Regions from separate parts of the Homo sapiens genome. Here regions 1, 2, 3, 4 and 5 are each linked to region 6. The links are contacts of gene promoters, found by promoter capture Hi-C in blood cells and fetal thymus (Javierre and others, 2016). All regions are on one chromosome and are shown on one strand. Each heading gives the region's core, a stretch centred on a gene start or on the middle of the fragment in contact. The rest is flanking DNA. Distances are from core to core; before and after follow the strand shown.

Region 1 (3,335 bases), core at 151-2,650, 340 kb after region 6:
CATTGGCGACGGAGTGGCAGGCCCCAAGCAGAGAAAGCTAAACACCCAAAGTGACCCCCCGGGAAGGGCAGCCTACCGTGTCCTCTCCTCCTCTGTGTTTTGAACCGCCTGGTCTCGGTACAGGACCTGGAGAATGGCCTCGCGTTCTAACTCCTTGAGAGCACTCAGATCTATTTCTTGGGCCATTTCTTCTCCGTTTTCGTTGACCCAGGTTGGAAGAGCTTCACTGCATGGACCAAGCGCTCACGCCCTGCAGATGAGCGGCGGAGGCCAGCTGCAGCCAGCCTTGTTTAAAGAGCTCCCTCTCCTATTTCACTGGCAACTGTTTTGCTTGTGGTTCTTTTTTCCTTTTTAACTGTGTCATACTCCTTAGAAGAAGAAAGCCTCAAGAAGTTCTGCGTTTGTCGGAGTTACGGCTCGCAGAGCCTCGTGCTACCCGGGGGGTGTTTTCACCGGGTTCTGCAGCAGCTGCTGACATCCATCTAAGACAAAAGCATATCTCTTTTCTGAGGTTTCACCAGAGATTGTTATAAATTATCCACAGCTGCAAGCAGATAATTTCTGCAAAGCAGAAGTAATTTTCAAGCCAAGGAAATTTAGAAATAGCAATAAAAAGAGTATCAGTGACTCATAGAAGCTAACCTTCCATTTAAGATGTTTCCAGGTCAGCAGGAACCATCATGAAAAGCTCAGCCCGTTCAATACCTGCAGAAAAGAAAACAAAAAATGGCAACATTTTTCTTGGCTTAAGTATCTCTGCAGCATTACTTCCAAAAAGACAAAATATTCTACACAAACCCTTGCATTTTCTGCTCGCGGTGATAATGTAAAATTTTAAATTTGCTTAAATAACACTTCTCATATTTCTAAAAGCCTCAAACTTCCAAACTTGAATTTTCCTAATATGGATTCCATAACTTTAGTGGTCAGAGGACGTAAAAGTCTGTGTTTAATGTACATTACCCTAATTGAAGAAATACTGGAAAAATGACATTCCCAACTGTTGGCTATTATTTTTACCATTAACTTCAACACTCAAAAAATGTTTAATCAATTAAGGATGTATGAAGCAGCACCACCACAAGCTCAGCCTATCAATTATTTACAGTCTTGAATAAGTTTCATGAGCTGCCTTATGCATTAGCTCTTGTTTTTGTTTAATGACAGCTGAAAGGTTCTGCATACATCCTTTTATCCAGAAAATGCAGAAGATCAAATCAATATACTTCCTATAGTACCATTTTTGTTATTAAATCTATGGGAATCCCTTAGTGATAAGACGTCCTTTCAATGCTTTAAAAGCTAAACTTCCTTTGCTAGGCTTCAAAAAAAATCTGCATTATATTAATTTATGATCCATGGCAAATTAGTGAATGAGAGGCTAACAGAGCTCTAAGGTAGCATTTCCTTTAAGCAAAGGTTCTTAACCTTTTTCTTAATCTTTGGTAGTCTGGTGAAGCCTACGTATTTAAACGCATAAAATAAGGTATGCTGTGTTACATAGGAAGAAATTGATTATACTGAAATATTTAAAAATTGTAATATAGTAATATATGTGTTCCTTGATGCATGAAATATTAAGATCTAGCAGTGATCTAAGGACTCCCAGAATTTCAAAGTAGTGATGAATAGAAACAATGTCTTGAGATAGCTACAACATATCATGTGGTATGAAAATATCTGTGATTTCTGTTGGTGACAAAGTCACAAGTTCTGCTGATTCTACTGTGGTTTCTTGCCTATATCCATATTTTAAGAAAATGCTAAATTTGAGTTAAAGGTTAATAAAAATAAAGATTTAATTTTTTCTCCAAGTTCATGGGCCTACAGGCCAAGATTGCTCAGTTCAGGAATTCAATATTTGTCAGTTTCCCTATTGTAAAATAAAATTAAAATATATTATTCATCCCAACTGCAGAGGTTGCATGAGGAACAGAAAACCCAGAGCTCTGAAAAGGGATGTTCTCGGCTTCTAGTCTCTGACAAAGCACCCACAAGACCTGTTCTCCAAAGGCCTCCTCTCTAGATGAAGGGAAAATCACAAAGCAACAAGGACTTTAGGTTCTTACCTGGCTGGGCTGGTACCTGACTATGCCAGCAGGGGCAACGCCTCTTCCCTCCTTAGATCCAGGTTCCAGATGAACAGGCAGAACTGGCATCCCTCAGTGCCCCAAGGCTCTGAGTCTCTGGAAAAGAGGAAAGTAATAGAAAACTGTGTGTGACCAAGTGCCAAGTGGCAAGGTGCAAATTAGCCATCAAGTCACCAACTGCACGAGCCCATTCTTCTCAACTTGCCCCTCAGTTCTTCATGCTGTCTTCTTATTTCCACTCTACTAATCGTACTACTGGGTCCAGAGCCATCTGGTTTGTCTAATTCTTGAGTTTTCATTTATTTATTTTGAGACAGGACCTCATTCTGTCACCCAGGCTGGAGTGCAGTGGCACCATCATGGCTCACTGCAGCCTTGGCCTCCCAGGCTCAAGCAATCCTTTAGCCTCCGCCTCCCGAGTAGCTGGGACTACAGGTGCGGGCTACCATGCCTAGCTAATGTTTTAATTTTGTAGAGATGGGTTTCACCATGTTGCGCAGGCTGGTCTGGGCTCAAGCAGTCCTCCTGTCTCAGCCTCCCAAAGTGCTAGGTTTACAGGTGTAAGCCACTGCACCTGGCTCTCGAGTGTTTTTAGTGAAGAGTTTTTGCACCTGGCTGCAAACACTTGCTCTGTGCACTGTGCTTTCTTTTCATGTGGCTGTTTGTGCTCCGTTCTCTGGCTCTGGTCTCCAGTACTCCAGGTAAGCAGGACCACATAGCTGCAGTATTGGCTGGTAATGACACCACTCAGTGAATCTGGTGGGGGAATCTGAAATACTCAACCGCTCGCTCATACAGGTGGCTATTAGGTCTTAACGCACTTCAGAAATACAGGGTTCAATGATCATTACAAAGCACTACACTTACTTTCCCAAACCCCCGCCTGTGGGCCCCAGGTGCAAGTGTGGGAAACGCCCTTTCGAAGGCTAAGAGGGAGCTCACGCTCCCCCTAGTGCCCATTCACTCCGCGTTACAGAAAAATGAAATTCAGTTCATTTCCTGGATCCATTCATCCAGTCATTCAGTAAATATTTATTGAACACCCCAGGCGCTGTTCCGGGTTTTTTTGTTTTTTGTTTTTTGTTGTTGTTGTTGTTTTTGAGACGGAGTATTGCTCTGTTGTCCAGGCTGGAGTGCAGTGGTGCGATCTCGGCTCACTGCAACCTCCGCCTCCTGGGTTCAAGCAATTCTCCTGCTTCAGCCTTCCGAGTAGCTGGGATTACAGGTGCCCGCCACCACGCCCGG
Region 2 (3,334 bases), core at 76-2,575, 390 kb after region 6:
ACCCTGAGGGTAGGATATCAGACAGACAATCTCAATTACCGTAGCATTTTGCTTAATTACTATCCTTACAGCAGGAATAACAGTTACTAATAAAAAATAACACATGGGTCTTTCCAAACATGTGCCTCTGCCTCTCATTGGGAAAGAAATGTTGCTTCTATCTCAACCAATCAGGTCTCGTAAGAGAGGCTGCTAAAAATCTCAAACAAAGGGCTAAAATGCTAAGCGAATACCAAAACAACCAAATGAATTATTGGTTTGGGAACAAAAAGCATACCATGGGTCATCCCATTCCTGGGCCCTCTCCTAATAATAAGCCTAGGACTAATGTTTTTACCCTGCCTAATTAACCTTTTTCAAAGATTCTTAACTGACAGGAGCATGGCTATTTCACAGACAACTATCCAAAACATCTACAGACGGCATTGCTCCCGCAGTCAATCCGAGACCAAGGGACTCTCTACCTCTCCCACCCAGCAGGAAGTAACCAGAAAGAACACGTCGCCCCTGGTCCTTTTATAACTATAGGGTCTGGAATGACAGAGCAGGAGCACCGTCATCTTGGACAAACACCCCCATTTTCAGTTCCAGCTCCCTTTCTAACTTCTTACGTTTCAAGGAAATCACTTCTAACAAAAAGCAGCCAGAAAGAGTAGACAGTAAAACACAGATAAGACAGCTGGGCACAGCTGGGCACCCAAGTCTCTTGGGTAACCACCGAACTTCACACTCATGTTTTGGGAGTGTAAATGGGCCCCCAAAAATGGGCCCCAGTAAAAAAGTAGGCCCTAATAAGCACATTCCTTTCCCTTTAAATGCGCTAAGATAGACAAGCTAAAAGCAGACTAGGAGGTGGGGGGGGTATCCCTGCAGCTGCAGGGAGTTGTATGGGAACAGACACAAAACCTCCCCCTCCCAGATAAGCAAGGCGAAGAGATACAGAAACATTCCAAGCCTGTGATAACCTCTTCTGCCCTGAACCCTTAAATACTCTTAGCCTGTAAGAGAGAGTGACTCTGACCTAACTCGGCCAGAAGGCCCTCTCAGGTTTATTGTCCAAAACAAACCTGTCTTTGACTGTTGAGCCGCTTTTCCTGTTTCTTTCCTTTCTTTAACTCTTACATTCCTCCCCGGCATTCCTCGGGCACAGGTGTGGGCGGGGCCGCCACCAAAGGCTGCCTGATTCAGAGCACTCAGGGAGTCCTTTCGTCAGGGGGAACCCCTCCACATCCTACCAATCCCTTTCTAGAAGAAATAGCTTCTCTAGAAAAGGAAGCCTGCAGCTTTAAGGCTGATTCCAAAGATAGTTCTCGTAACTCCATGAACTCTTAATTTGCAACTGAAGCTGAGAGTCAGAATGATACGACTGAGGAACCCAACAAGGTCCAGAAAAGGAAGACGGATAGACTTCGACATCAGGGCTCCACAATGATCTACCTGGAGGCTAACCAGGGCATCCAGGGAAATCAATGCCGAAAAGGAAGGGAGAGGCTGTCACTAGTTCAAAACCAAGCATAGCAGAGTGTCCCAGTTGTGGAGAAGGACCAGCTAGGAGTGAAGGACCAGCCAAGACTGAGAAGGAACAGCCAGGAGTGTCACAGTCACCCCTGCTGAGAAGGATAGTCAATCCCAGAGGTCAGTGGAGAAGGACAAGACAGTGCCAGAGAGGAGCAGCTTCTGTGACAGGAGAGTAGTCACAGACCCTCAGGAGAAACCCACTGAGGAGCCCCTTGGGGACCAAAGGACAGTCACTGACAAATGCTCTCCACCCCTCGAGTTTCTGGATGACTCTCTCATTTAGAAATCCGAAAGCATAAAGATAGGGAGGTGGTGATGGAGCACCCCTCTTCAGGAAGCAACTGGTCTGATCTGGAGATCTCCACGGTCAGATTCTCTCAGGAGGAACCCGTCCCACTGAAACCCTCAGCCATTCCAGAGCCTTCTTCCTTCACTACTATGTCATGTACCTGCCTCATTTTTACAGTAGTCCTTGGTGTGAGTATGTCAGCTAGTGCACCAGCAGCCCCAAGCCTGCCGGCTACCTGTCTGTGAGCAGCAGCAGCAATGACGCAGCACAGGCTGGGAGGAGCAGCCCGAGTGCCTGAGTGATTCTTCCCCCAACTCTGCAGTGAGCGCCCATAACGTCTCCAGAGATGTGGAGGCCTCAGAGGAAGGCAGCTCCCAGAATTCTCACTCATTTCACTTCTCCAGAAGCTCGGGAGGAAAAGAGGTGAAGCAAAGAAGAACATTCCAAGAGGAGATGCCTCTGTGTCCTTGTGGAGGACACACATCCAGCTCCCTGCCAAAGAGCCACTGGGAGCCAAGCCTAGAGCAGGGCTTCACTGATACCCACTGTCATTTGGATATGCTGTATTCCAAGTTGTCTTTCAAAGGGACCTTGACTAAGTTCAGAAGAATTTACAGCAGCTCCTTCTCTAAGGAATTTCAGGGTTGCATCTCTGACCTCTGCCACCCTCACCCTGACAAATTGCCTACGGGGGGAGCTGTTGAAAGAGAATCTGGTCTGGGGGGCCTTTGGCTGTCACCCTCATTTTCCATGTTACTACAATAAGAGTCAGGAAAGAAATCTTTTACAAGCCTTAAGGCACCCCACGACTGTGGCATTTGGAGAAACAGGCTTCAATTACTCCTACAAGTGCACCATGCCTGTCCCAGAACATCACAAGGTATTTAAGAGACAGCTTGAGCTGGCTGCGTCTCTAGAGAAGCTTTGGTGATCCTCTGCCAGCAAGCTGACGAGGATCTGCTGGACACCATGAGAAAATGTGTGTTCTCTGACTACAAGATACACAAGCATTGCTTCACTGCAGCTACCTGGCCATGGAACCCCTGCTGAAGTACTTTCCCAACGTCGGTGGGCCTCATGGCAGTCCTGACGTACTCCTCCACCTGAGAAGCCCGGGAAGTGCTGAGGCAGATCCCACTGGAGAGAATCATCATGGAAACGGATGCTCCCTACTTCCTCCCTAGCCGGGTTCCCAAAAGCCTTTGCCAGTATGCCCACCTGGGCCTGGCCTTGCATACAGTCCTGGAGACTGCCAGAGTCAAAGATCTAGTCTCCCACACCCTGGCCACTTTGCGTGAGAACACCAGTTGCCTCTACAGTCTTTAAGCAGAGAGGGCACAGTCATTGGGAGTCTCCCAGAAAAGGGCAACTAGCAACCTGACGTAATACAGGCTGGCCTGAAGTCTGTGTCCCAGGGGGAGGATGTGTTTGGAAGGCCGACTGGAACACAGAAAACCAGGACGGGATATTTTTCCTCAAAGCGGGTCATGAGGCTTCAGTTTCTGGGTAGTGGGTGTGGAATGAGGG
Region 3 (3,063 bases), core at 105-2,604, 290 kb after region 6:
AATACAAGAAATCTCCGCTGCCAAATTATTTAGTTTAGTTGTGTATGAATTCTGCCCCTTCACACACAGCACAGTTTGCTATGCTGTGTAGTTCACGTTCTCATCATGTCCCATGCTGGAGGTAAAAATTACAGACACTTTTAGAGTTTTAATTTGTGTTATGCATTTTTTTTTTTTTGAAAACTGACTCCATGCTTCAAAGTACGTCATCACACCATGACTCTGACATGTACATAAAGATGTTGATATTTCCTAAGGGAAGAGATCTCCTTTTTGTACATCTGTATTTGCAAAAGATAAAATTTCTTGAGATCTCAGCTGTTTGGGTGACTGTATATGCAATGGTGACCCATGGCGGTTTTTGATCCATCTCATCAAATGACTGTTTGAAAAATACTGCTGTTCATGACAATATTTCAGTTACAAAGCTGGATGCACACAATACCAGCCATAGTAATGTGTATTTCTACACTTCCCTTTCTGATGTATTTCTTTATGAATATGGTTCATCTGTTCATAATTGTTATACCCATGTGACTGTCATTAGTATATCTGAGTGTTTATGCTTGCAAAAATATGCATGCTGTTTTTGCCTATTTATTGTGTAAAGTGGCCAGTTAAGTGTTCTGTCATGGTTTTTGTTTTTAGTTTGTTTGTTTAGAGACAGTCGCGCTCTGTTGCCCAGGCTGGAACGCATTGGCGCAATCATGGCTCACTGTAGCCTTGGCCTCCTGGGCTCAAGGGATCCTCTTCCCTCAGCCTCCTGAGTAGCTGAGCCTACAGGCATGTGCTACCACATCCAGCTAATTTTTTTATTTTTTGTAGATAGGGTCTTGCTATGTTGCCCAGGCTGTTGTCATGTTTTTACATGTTTCTCAAATCCCCTTTAAATTTTTTAAATAAATTTCTTCAAAATCATTTTTAGATTTTCTAGAATTATATTTTTGGGATTTTGATCTTTCAGGATTCCAACATTCAGGATGATAGCACTCAGGACTATGTCTTCTGGGATTATGATCAGCTCCCATATTCTCCCATATATACCTGCCCCCTTTAATTTATAGAATAATGAAGATAACCAAGACAATATATTTCCATGGCACTTTACGGTTTTCCAAGTACCAACACAGACATTATTTTGTTAATTTCTCACAACAGCCATACAAATATAGACGATATATACAAATATAGACACTCCCTGACTTACGATGGTTTGACTTACAATTTTCTGACTTGATGATGGTGTGAAAGCAATATATATTCAGTAGAAACCGTACTTTGCATTTTGATCTTTTCTATTTTGTATTATTAATAACATTTTTATTATTATAAAATAGGCTCTGCATTAAATGATTCTGCCCAACTGTAGGCTAACGCAAGTGTTCGGAGCACTTTTAAGGCAGGCTAGGCTATGCTATGATGTTTGGTAGGTTAGGTGTGTATTAAATACAATTTATTTTTTTTGAGATGGAGTCTTGCTCTGTTGCCCAGGCTGGAGGGCAGTGGCACTTGGCTCACTGCAACCTCCACCTCCAAGGCTCAAGCAATTCTCCTGCCTCAGCCTCCAGAGTAGCTGGGACTACAGGTGCCTGCCACCATGACCAGCTAATTTTTGTATTTTTAGTAGAGACAGGGTTTCACCATGTTGGCCAGGCTGGTCTCGAACTCCTATCCTCAAGTGACCCACCTCGGCCTCCCAAAGTGCTGGCGTGAGCCACCGCGCCTAGCTAAATATATTTTTGACTTACAGTATTTTCAATTTACTTTGGGCGTATTGGGACATAACCTCATCATAAGTCAAGCAGCACCTGTATAATTATTTCCACCTCTCAGGTGGGAAACCCAGGTAACTGCCCCAAGATCACACAGCTAATTTCTTTGGACAGAAATGGTGCTGGTCCACTGTACATCAGAGCCTGCAAACACTCAAAAGAGACACTCCCACTCACACACACGTTAACCAATCTTATTTCCCCTTAGACCCCAGAGACTCTACACACACGCCCAGCACAGAGCAGAGTTGGGGAAGGGGGCCGATGCCATGCCAAGAGTAAAGAGACCTCGGGTGCAGGCAGAAAGGGTCGCTGATGACACAGAGGGTCCCGCGACCAGAATGAGGAGAGAAGCTCTGCCCAGCCTGAGGGCCCTCGCTCCCCACCCCGCTTTGTGACCCGCTCCAGGCACAGTCAGATCCCTTTGCTGGGAGGTTCCGTGCCCGGCCTCAGCCTCGAAAGCTCCCCTGCTTCCTCTCCTTCTATCCCCTGACCCCTACTAGAGAAGTGCCCAGAATGGATACGTTACCCTGCCAGGACTGCGGCTGCACTGGCTCTCGCTGACAGGAGGTGGAGTAGGAGGAACCACAGAAATTTTGCTGCCAAGGAAAACACAGGCATAAGAAATGGGTTGTGAACCATGCAAGCCGTTAGTTTTACAAATACACAAAATGTGCCATTATTCTATAATTCTAGTTCTCCGCCTTTTTTTTAAACTGCCTCACTTTTTGGAAAAATAGCCAGCAGCCCTGCTTGGACCTGCTGCTCTACGAGGGGCATGATTTCCTGGTATCTATATGAGGGCGATGCTGCCTAAAGTCTGGGTACTCCGCCCCACTCAGTCATGTGTTCTGAAACAGCCTGGGTGCTCCGGCCTGGACCTGCCACCTGGCTGCGGGGAAACCCCTGGTTCCCATCTGCGCTCCCGTGTTCTCTTAGCACAAACCACACCAGCAGAAGCGCCAAAAATGTTGTGGATGTGAGAATCAACCACGAAGCAAACTGGAAGCTTGTGCTAAAAGAAATGGGAAAGAACAGGGGAGGAAAAAAATGAAAAAGTCTCGATATTGGAAAATTTCACCATGGGCCAAACAAAATAGCAGCTGGTGGGGAGCTTTCAGAAACACTTTAATAAATTGAGTGTAATCAGGTGTGTGAATTATGGCCAGCTTCATGACTGCTCAGTTTTTAGAATTTTGTGCAAAGAAGTTCACATCTCTCAGGCCATTATTCAATTCTATCAATGTTTATTTCACCAGTATCTCTAACGCGCCAGGCGCTGGGTAGGGTG
Region 4 (3,387 bases), core at 332-2,831, 370 kb after region 6:
AATCCCAAACTGAACAGCAAAAGCTGGGGACTGACACTAATAAAATGAGTGTGTCAACTCTGTGGGAATGACACAACGCAGGTTCTACATATGCTGGGCCCCAACTCACCTCAGAGCTCGACATTTCAACTCACTCTCTCTCTGCCAAGAGAAGTCACTGGGAATCACAGCGCCCACATGAATGGGAAACCCGGGAAGTGGGTCGTGGATGAACACAGGCCTCTGTGCCCGCTAACTGGCCAGCAGTCCAGACCCCAGGGTGGCTTACCATAGAGGGCATTCTTCGATGGAGAATATACAAAGGCCAAGGTGTAGAGATAGAAGTTCAACAGGCCATAGAAAGATAAGAACTCGGCTGGTGGTGCTGTCAAGGGAAGGAACGCGGCATCTGGACACATCAGTCAGAGGCTCTGCCTACAGCCCGACCACTCCTCCCGCCATCAGCAGCCCCTTCTAGTGCCAAGCACCCGCCAGTGCCCGGGGGTCCATTACCCAGACGTCAGGACTCCACAGTTCAAGCCCACAGCCAGGGGTCACAAGCACTCTTCGAGGTCACAGTAAATAACAGGTGAACTATGGCCTCTCACATCAGTGGAAACCTGGACCCACTGAGCCATCTGGTGGCGCTCCTGTCACCAGCACCGAGGGCAGGGCCAGAAGAGATCAAGTTACATGAAAAGGGCAGGAAGGCCACGGGCATACGGTGAATCAAGGTCTCTAGACACAATAATGAAATAAAGAATTGGAAACAAACTCTCAAACCAATTGCTCTGAACATTTCTGGATTACAGACCCCTATGAAAATCAGATAAAAGCTTAGTGTGAAATTCAGTCACAAAACTTTGAAAAAATCGTATATTAATTCATGCATTAACTGGGACATAAGAAATCCCAAAGAAAGAACCCAGGATCTAAAGGATTAACTCTTGAAGTGTCCCCAACAAAGAGTGGAAAGCACATACCTAACCTCTCCGACTTCTGGGCGAGGCCAGGGCTCCCGGGAGGCAACAGCCCTGCGCCACTGGCCTCAGGCACAGCGGGAATCGAAGGGGGTCCCAGTATTTTCTGAGCTCTTCCCTACAGACACAGGCTCAACCTGCCACAACTGTCATACCCTTGGATACATCTCCGTGATGATGAGAGAGATATCCCGGGGGGAGACAGGAGGCTCACGGCAGCCCTCAGCCACCCCACAGTGCTCTGCTGGAGGGCAGTAGGGGCTTGGAGCCCCGCGGTGTGGAGAGGCAACCGCACCTCATTTACCTCACAGCACCTGCCCCTCTGGGTGGAAAGCAGCGTGGCGTGGGCACGCTCCAGAGCGCCAGCCTCTCTGGGTTTGGAGCCGGGCTCTGCCACCCGAAACCTGACCTGGGGCAACTACTGAGCCAAGCTTCCTGTGTACAGAGGAGGGACAGGCTGCCCCTTCCCACGGCTGCAGCGGGGCCAACTGAGACACCTCTCAGCAGAGACGAGGCCTCCGGAGAACAGGGCGCGAGGAGCTGACCTGTCTCCTCTTGAGAGGGGCAAATCTGAGCCACTAACTGCTGCAATGCTAAGCAGGCGTCCTGCAGCCAGGGCCCTCCAGTGAAAAGGATATAATTCTGGTAGTGAGTTGACAGCTCTGCTACAAAATTGTCTTGTAGTACTTGCGCCCCAAATCTCAAATAAAGGATGGCGATGCTGAACAAGACAGAGGAGCAGAGACAATATGTAAACATGCACGAAAACGGCACTAGCTTCAGAGAATTCTCTATTCACCCCATTCAAGCTTTCCGTCTGTACACTATGATTTCTGCATGGGAACTTCCACACACATGCACAGATGCACGCACAGATGCACACATGCACACACACACACAGCCCCTGCTTCTGGTTTTTGGTCTCGGATCTAGGTGGGCTAGACCCACCGGCCGGCTGCAGGGACAGGATGAACCCTGCTGCAGGCCCCATCACACTCTCCCTACTCGGGGCCTTGAAGCCTCCTTGGCACATTTCCTCCCTGCTCTTGCTTTTGTAACTCAGGTTTTCGAGACCATCTCCTGTGACAGAGCCCCTCTCCCGAGGGAAGCCTGCTTCTCCTTCGTCACAGCTCCCCTTTCAGACACAGGGACGCCTCCCCGGTCAGTTCCAGTGACTTTGCACAGCAGCGAAGGCAACATCTTTGGTTCAGACTCCCAGCCGGTGACAGATGACAACAGAGGCCTCGGGACACAGGTCCACAGGCTCCTCCCCCACCTGCCTTCCACCTCACCTCCCACATGCCACCCTCAGCCAGAAGGCTTAACATGTGCACCAGACCCTTTCACCTCCCAGCTCAAGACCCTCTGGCGGTCTCCCAGCACAGAATGGAAACTGGACTCAAGAGCTCGCTCTGCCTCCTGCCGTGCCCACGCCTGCTCATCTCCAGCCACGCTGGCCTCCAGCGACGCAGCTGTCTCTCCACCTCGCCATGCTGACGCCCACCCAGGCTGCCGGTGCCCTGTTCTGCGGCCTGGGGCAGCCACCCCACAGCTTTCAGGGCTCCTCCTCAGGTCCTCAGCCAAATGTCGCCTCTCCAAGAGATACATCCCCAAACCACTCATCTAAAGTGGACCCTTCCCCTCTGCAAGTCACATCTCCTTGTTTCGTCTGCAGCATGGCACGCAGGGGGAATGTATTTAGTTGTTTGCCACTCGTCTCTCTCTGTGTGAACATAAATCCCGTGACAGAGAGAAGCCTGTCTGCCAGGACAGGCACTCAGTAACTATTTGTAGGATAAATGAGTCCCCTAACACCTATGTGAAGAGAGATCACATGGCAGGGCAACTTCCGAGACGGAGGCCACCAGAAGTAGACAGTAGCTCCCAACTTGGGGACTAGGTAATTTGAGGGTGAGGGTGTGTGAGTGAAGGTGTAAGGGTGTGAGAGTGAGGGTGTGTGTGAGGATGTGTGACAGTGAGGGTGTAAGGTGTGTGAGCAAGGGTGTGTGAGGGTGTGAGAGAGGGTGAAAACGAGGGTGAGGGTGAGGGTGTGTCAGTGAAGGTGTGAGGGTGTGAGAATGAGGGTGTGTGTAAGGATGTGTGAGAGTGAGAGGCTGTAAGGGTGTGCTGAGAGTGAGGGTGTGTGAGTGATGATGTGTGAGAGGGTGTGAGTGAGGGTGAGGGTGAGGGTGAGAATGAGGGTGAGAATGAGGGTGAGGGTGTGTGAGTGAAGGTGTGGGGGTGTGAGAGTGTGAGAGTGAGGGTGTGAGGATGTGTGAAAATGAGGGTGTGTGTGAAGGTGTGTGTGTGAGGGTGGGTCAGTTGTGAGTGAAGGCATGAGTGAGGTGTGAGTGAGCCTCTATGTGAGGTTGTGAGGTTGTATGGCCATGTGTATGAGACGTCACAGAGACAACGTGCACACCTAGCA
Region 5 (3,170 bases), core at 155-2,654, 260 kb after region 6:
AACAAGAGACAATAAACCACAGATTTAAGAGGAAAATATTTTTTAAAAAAACTATACATAGGTACATCATAATAACATTGCTTAAAATCAAAGACAAAGAGAAAATCTTAATGGTAGAGAAAAAAAGGATCTGTTACCTATGATGGAATCAACAGTAAGATTTAACCATTTTACTGCCCACCAGAAATGATAGAAGCCAGACTTGTTTAATCCAAAAAGAATGATGAAAAGAAGGTGGTAGAGACAGTAACACAGGAGAAAAAAGTAGTTACAATAAACTAGAACAGGTTACATACTACAAAAAAAGTCAATGACTGGATTTTTAAAAACATCTGACTGTGCTATTTAGATGAGACACAGCTGAAATATGAATGTACAGAAGGGCAGGAAGAGACGGCGCCTTCTTTTGCAGGGAGCCAGACAGGGAGGGCTGTGTGAGTGGGAGGGGAAAGGTGGGAATGCCAAGTGCAGACAACTAATAAAAGCTTAGCTGAGGGGCTAGGTGCAGTGGCTCACGCCTGTAATCCCAGCACTTTGGGAGGCCAAGGCAGGTGGATCGCTAGAGGTCAAGAGTTCAAGACCAGCCTGGCCAACATGGCGAAACCCTGTCTCCACTAAAAATACAAAAATTAGCTGGGCACGGTGGCACACACCTGTCATCTCAGCTACTTGGTAGGCTGAGGTGGGAGAATCACTTGAACCCAGGAGGTGGAGGTTGCAGTGAGCTGAGATAGCACCACTGTACTCCAGCCTGGGCAGCTGAGCGAGACTCTATCTCAAAACAAAACAAAATAAAAAGATTAGCTGAGGTGGGGAGAGAAAAGTGGTAGCTGGAGGGGAATGGAAGGTTTAGTGAAGGTGTTTTATTACAGGAGACTTGAATGTGTTTCAGGGTCCAGGTAAGTAGAGGCTGAATGCGTAAGAGAGAGGAAGGACAAGTAATAGAATAAGGAACAGAGAAGGCAGGGGAGGGCAGGATCCCAAGTATTGCTGCAGGCATCAGCTTCTTCTATTGCGGGTGGGGAAAGAAGAGTCACTTGGGTGCAAATGCGGTTGGTTAATTTTGCTATCAGGAGGATTGGGAAATTTCAAACTGATTCTTTTCTTTCTTGGTAGAGTAAAAAGGGAGATTTGAGAGTGAGGAGGAAGAGCAGGTTTGAAAAGACTGGAGGAGGTGTGAAATGTTTGTTGTGGAGAGCAAAAAAACTGTGTTAATCAGGCAAAGACATCAGGATTGCTGGGCAGTGCTGGGCACAGTGGACCTGGGAACACAACAGGGCAGACCTAATCTCCAGCATGCAGGCGTGAGTGTCCTGGGGTTAGGGCTGCCCTGCCATGCACTTTGCTCCTTGGGTGTGCAGCTGTTGGTGTGCAGGTAGAAAGAAAGGGCACAGCTGCGCTTGTCCAGGTTGGCACCCAGAATTATAAAGCATCCAGGAAGCATTGTCATTACTCATCATTTTATAAGTAGATAAACGAAGGTCAAGGCAGGTTGAGTCATGCCCCAAATTGCATCACACATCAGAAGCAGACCTGAAAGTGGACCAGGGCTCCTAAATCTCTGGGCCATAATGTATGCTCATGTCTCTGAGTAGTTCAACCGCTGTGTCTGCTGAGCAGGGACGGGGAGGATACACCCTCATAATGAAAGGAGAGCAGAGCACGTCCATCCATCAAATGCGTTCCTTCCCAGGCGACTCATGGCTCCACCACCATCGCCCTGGCAGGGCTCCTGGTTCTGCTCTCTCTGGAGCCAGAACAGAGCCTTTGAGCAGGTTACAAGTTGAATGCAGCAAATGGAGTCAACCAAAAGATTCTGGCCCAGAAGCGCAACCCAAAACTCAGCCTGACTTTTATTAAAGCCATTGGCACAGTCTGGGTTTGAAAGAAAGTCAATCTGGGTAACGGCAAAGGAAAAACTCAAGGCAGGCAGGGAGCCTTCTGCCAGTGACTTTCTCTGAAGGTCACAAATGTATCTCCTGTAACTGCAAGCTAAGTTTCATGCCCTTTTATTTCACAAGGGCAGAAAACTCAGAGTCAACTGAAGCCACAGCTAAATTAAAAATAATAAATCCTGATAAGAACACACTGAGAACATTTTTGCAAAGTGGTTAAGATGGTGAGTGATGAGGCCACACAGCAGCCTTCCAGTGCCTGGCCCTGACACTTAGTGGCTGTGTGATCTTGACCAATTATCTTACCCTCCAGAGCCTCAGCTTCCTCATCTGTAAAATGGGGATCTATTTCATAGGGTCATGGTGAAGTTCAATTAGTTAACACACGGAAAAAGACTTAGAACCATGCCTATGCATGGTAAGCTTAGTGATTATCAGCCTTTTAAAAATGCCACAAAATGTGGATGACCTTTGTAAGCTAAGCAAATCATTTGATTTTTCGTTGTTTTTTTTTTTTTTGCCATGAAATGTATAACAAAAGAGTACATATAACATATAGGATTAAACAATTATAAAATTAACATCCACATGCCCACTCTCAGCTTAAGAAAAATAACATCGCCAGGACTTCAGAAGTGCCCCAGAACTCCTCCTCCCTTATCAAATCCCCTCTCATTCCTGTCTCCAGGAAACACTATTTCAAACTGTCTGTTAATCATCCTTGATTTTCTTGATGGTTTTACTTTTTCTACTTTTTTTTTTTTTTTTTTGAGACAGAGTCTCGCTCTTGTCGCCCAGGCTGGAGTACAATGGCACGATCTCAGCTCACTGCCACCTCTACTTCCCAGGTTCAAGCATTTCTCCTGCCTCAGCCTCCCAAGTAGGTGGGATTACAGGCACCTGCCACCATGCCTGGCTAATGTTTGTATTTTCAGTAGAATGGGGTTTCACCATGTTGGTCAGGCTGGTCTCAAACTCCTGACCTCAGGTGATCCGCCCGCCTTGGCCTCCCAAAGTGCTGGGATTACAGGCATAAGCTACTGCATCCAGCCAATGGTTTTATTATACATGAATATATCCCCCAAACAATCTACTGTTTAGTTTTACCTGATTTTGAAATTTATACAGTTAGAATAATACTGTGTGCACATTCTCCATAATTTAACTTTCTCTTGACATTTTGGTTGTTGACAGTTTTTCTTTTTTTGAGACAGGAGTCTCGCTTTGTCGCCCAGGCTGGAGTGCAGTGGCGTGATCCTGGCTCACTGCAAACTC
Region 6 (3,322 bases), core at 305-2,804:
ACTGCACTCCAGCCTGGCCACAGAGCGAGACTCCATCTAAAAAAAAAAAAAAAGAAAGAAACTTGTACAAGAACCTATAGTGGCTATCAATTTCTTTATAAAGCCCACTGTGGCTGGTATAGCACTATTGTTTACCCACTTAATACCCACTCAATTCTGCCCCAACATCCTCCTAACAGAATTTGTTCTCCTCCTCCCTGGCCAAGTGTTTCTTGGAGGCCTAGAAAGACCGGTTACCTGGTCTAATCCAAATATGGTGGTCTTATATAGATCCTAAGCTTAAATCAATATGATGTAATTCTGGTCAGTTGGGAGTTTACGAGGGGGTTTTGCTCTTCCAATAAAGACAAAAGAGCAGATACTTCTATTACTACTTTGTTGAAGCCAACAACCCAGGTGACAGAGTGGAAAGGTAGGGGAAAAAACGTGTTGTTGATAATGTGCTGAGCCCCCAAGTTACCCTCCAGGTTAACCAACCTGGGGAGTGTAAAATAATGAATTCCTTATTATTTCAGCCACTTGGAATTGGTTTTTTGTTACTTGAGGGAAAAAATATTCTAATTAATATGCTAGTGTTTACTGTTTCCACGATGTGGTGTCAGCCTGTCTATATATATTTCTACAACTCATCTACACAAACCTTGCTTACAGTTTTCCAAATGCACCTTGGGCTTCTTGAGCCTTTGATCAAGCCATTCCGAATGCACTTCCCCCAAGAGGCTGGCCAGTTAAAATACTATCATTTATCAAACACAACTTAAATGTCACTTTCTCCTCTAGCCCTTTCAGAAATTACCTCAAAATTAAATGATCAGACCTAAAATATGTTGGGAGTGTTTTCACCTCTAGAATTTACCATACACCTTTATGCTAGTGTTACTTATAGAATGCCTACATCTGCTTTAGGTCATACACTTCAAAGCACAGAACGGTCCAGATCTTAATATAAAGGCTTGCCATTTACCAGGCACAGCTCTAAGTATTAACGGTTTTAATCCTCAAGACAAAACCTAAAGAGATAAATTCTTCTATTGCCACTTTGTGGATTAGGAAAATGAAGCACAAAAACATTTAACTTGCCTGAGGTTTCGGAGCTAGTACATTCTAGAACCTGGATTCAAATCAAGACAGCAATTAGCTGAATGAAGGTGTAACTGCAAATGCAAATAACTGATCACAAGGGATACACATTCACTCATACAAGATAGAAGATTTTTAACGTTGCTGGTACTAAAACCAAAGCGTCTGCGTTTTTAAGCGCAGCCCCACCCCGCAATACTAGAGACATTCTTTAGAGCTGGAAGCCTGATAGATTAAGGGGAACTATGCCTTTGTATTTTTTAAGACTCAATAAATTGCTCACTTCTTTCCCAAAATGAGGTGTCTGTGGGGGAGGCCCCTGTCGCTCCGTGTGCCAAGGGTCCTCCGATTGCTAGCACACAGCGGTGAGCAGAGAAGGTAGGTGAGGAACTGCACTGACTCAGCTGCAGAGGGCGGCGGCAGCCCGCCCCTGGGGCGGGAGAAGGGCAGGAGCCGGGAGACACCAGGAAGCTCTTCCCCGCCCGGGCACGTAACAGAGCTGGGAGCCTGGCTGCCAGGGGCGTGTTATCGCGGGGGCAGCCTGGGAGCGCTGCTGCGCCGCGGCAGGAGAAACAGCCGAGGACACCCTGGAAGAGCAGGAGCACGTGGGCCTGCGAGAATGGCGCCAACACCAGCCCTGCAAAGCCACATTCCAAAGCCGGGCCAAGGACAGCCACCGTTGCCCCGCAGGCCTCAAGGATGACGGTCAAGCCAGCCAAGGCCGCCTCCCTAGCCAGGAACCTCGCAAAGCGCAGGCGCACCTACCTGGGTGGCGCGGCTGGGCGGAGTCAAGAGCCGGAAGTCCCTTGTGCCGCAGTCCTTCCCGGGAAACCTGGGGACCGGAACTGCCCGGAGTTCCCGCCCCCAGACAGAACCCTGGGTTGCTGGGCAACCGATGCGGCCCCCGCAGCTGGTCTCTGTGGTGCTGGGAGCGAGCCCAGTATAGCTCCCACCTCCTGCGCTGGTAACCTCCCGTCCCGCCCGCCTCCCTTGTTGTCGCCTCTCCTCGCGTCGCGGAATCCTTGCCCTTGGCACTACTTACATCTCTCCGGGTCCCACAACACCTTAGCGCCCACCTGCTTCAAAGCCAAGCTCCACCGAAAGCGAGGCAGTCAGCCCCCGGACATGGCCTCAGCGCTGACTGATCGCACCTCTCGGGCCCCGAGCACCTACACCTACACCAGCCGGCCCCGAGCACTGCCCTGCCAGCGCAGCCGTTACCGGGACAGCCTGACGCAGCCGTGAGTGACCAAGCCAGCCCCTGTGTGGTCCATACTTGCACCCCATCCCCAGGCCGGGGTCTGGCCCCTTCGCCCTGGCAAAAAAGCTGCTTATGCTGTCTTCCCTTGGCTGCACTCTGCCGAAATAAAAGTTCTGCCCTAAGGAATCTCCCGTGGTGTGGAGGAGTGAAGCAGGAAGGGGCATGGGTTGGGCATCAGTTAACTTTTAGTGATATGAGTTGCTGCCGTGGTCCTTAACATGTACACGAATTGGCTCATTTCACAAAGTTTGAATTGTACCAGTGTGTATTGAGGGCCAACTACGTGCTGAGCACCTTACGGGGGGCATTCAAATACGTTTTCTTAGTTAATCCACAGTGCTGTGAAGTTGATTTTATAACTCCATTATGCAGATGAGGAGACCGCGGTGCAAAGATATCCAACAGTAGCATATCCAAAATGGGAGCCGAGTAAATCTCTTCGGCAGGCTTTGAGCAGGAGTAAGATTATTCTTCCATGCAGGACCACAGATTGGTTTTTTGTGGTGGTGGTGGTGGTGGTGGTGGTGGTTGCTGTTGTTGTTTTGAGACGGAGTTTCGCTCTTGTCGCCCAGGCTGGACTGCAATGACGCGATCTCCGCTCACTGCAACCTCCGCCCCCCTCCCCCACTCCTCCCCGATCAAACGATTCTCCTGCCTCAGCCTCCCAAGTAGCTGGGACTAGAGGCGCCCTCCACCACCCCCGGCTAATCTTTGTATTTTTAGTAGAGACAGGGTTTTGCCACGTTGGCCAGGCTGGTCTCAAACTCTTGGCCTCAAGTGATCCGCCCGCCTCGGCCTCCCAAAGTGCTGGGATTACAAGCGTGAGCCACCGCGCCCGGACGGCAGTTTGTGTTTTTACATCCATGAACAGTTGCAAATATTCAAACATACATAGGAAAGAAAAAAAACAAAACATAAGCCTTTTTTTTTTTCTTTTTTTTTTTTTGAGACGGAGTCTCGCTCTGTCGCCCAGGCTGGAGT

What was found. The method cuts DNA at HindIII sites, captures the fragments that hold promoters and counts their contacts. A CHiCAGO score of 5 or more calls a contact.
Region 1: a contact is called between a fragment that was not itself captured here and the fragment with the promoter of RSPH3 in region 6, in 2 of 17 cell types (naive B cells and total B cells). The highest score is 5.3, in naive B cells.
Region 2: a fragment that was not itself captured here is called in contact with the fragment with the promoter of RSPH3 in region 6 in 1 of 17 cell types (neutrophils); the score reaches 5.6 in neutrophils.
Region 3: a contact is called between a fragment that was not itself captured here and the fragment with the promoter of RSPH3 in region 6, in 12 of 17 cell types (total B cells, naive B cells, megakaryocytes and 9 more). The highest score is 11.8, in total B cells.
Region 4: a fragment that was not itself captured here is called in contact with the fragment with the promoter of RSPH3 in region 6 in 1 of 17 cell types (total CD8 T cells); the score reaches 5.3 in total CD8 T cells.
Region 5: a contact is called between a fragment that was not itself captured here and the fragment with the promoter of RSPH3 in region 6, in 2 of 17 cell types (naive B cells and total CD8 T cells). The highest score is 5.1, in naive B cells.

What each region holds. Positions count from the first base shown.
Region 1 is chr6:158,660,120-158,663,454 of GRCh38, reverse strand. SYTL3 (synaptotagmin like 3) reads right to left here. Exons shown (of 18, transcript NM_001242394.2): 3 at 2,070-2,186; 4 at 77-705. The coding sequence starts at 186. Among named protein-coding and RNA genes, the nearest start is that of SYTL3, 12 kb to the right of the region's middle. RefSeq lists a silencer at 2,916-2,995. The HindIII fragment of the contact is 4,315 bases long and covers 1-3,335 here.
Region 2 is chr6:158,609,505-158,612,838 of GRCh38, reverse strand. The region is part of intron 10 of TMEM181 (transmembrane protein 181); the gene reads right to left. MIR7161 (microRNA 7161) reads right to left here and starts at 3,132; the gene lies at 3,049-3,132. It also overlaps the pseudogene TATDN2P2. RefSeq lists an enhancer at 3,019-3,334. The HindIII fragment of the contact is 2,812 bases long and covers 1-2,731 here.
Region 3 is chr6:158,707,630-158,710,692 of GRCh38, reverse strand. It overlaps SYTL3 (synaptotagmin like 3), which reads right to left. Exons shown (of 18, transcript NM_001242394.2): 8 at 2,302-2,371. Among named protein-coding and RNA genes, the nearest start is that of MIR3918, 56 kb to the left of the region's middle. RefSeq lists enhancers at 1,683-2,314, 2,315-2,946. The HindIII fragment of the contact is 2,859 bases long and covers 1-2,783 here.
Region 4 is chr6:158,626,701-158,630,087 of GRCh38, reverse strand. TMEM181 (transmembrane protein 181) reads right to left here. Exons shown (of 17, transcript NM_001376852.1): 14 at 1,598-1,680; 15 at 269-358. Among named protein-coding and RNA genes, the nearest start is that of DYNLT1, 16 kb to the left of the region's middle. The HindIII fragment of the contact is 378 bases long and covers 1,393-1,770 here.
Region 5 is chr6:158,736,284-158,739,453 of GRCh38, reverse strand. All of the region lies in intron 11 of SYTL3 (synaptotagmin like 3), which reads right to left. Among named protein-coding and RNA genes, the nearest start is that of MIR3918, 27 kb to the left of the region's middle. The HindIII fragment of the contact is 1,833 bases long and covers 488-2,320 here.
Region 6 is chr6:158,998,434-159,001,755 of GRCh38, reverse strand. RSPH3 (radial spoke head 3) reads left to right here and starts at 1,554. Exons shown (of 8, transcript NM_031924.8): 1 at 1,554-2,321. The coding sequence starts at 2,206. It overlaps TAGAP-AS1 (TAGAP antisense RNA 1), which reads right to left and starts at 1,883. Exons shown (of 5, transcript NR_183546.1): 1 at 1,364-1,883. RefSeq lists enhancers at 1,246-1,295, 868-1,839, 1,706-1,865, 2,036-2,105, 2,136-2,185 and 2 more. The HindIII fragment of the contact is 7,152 bases long and covers 281-3,322 here.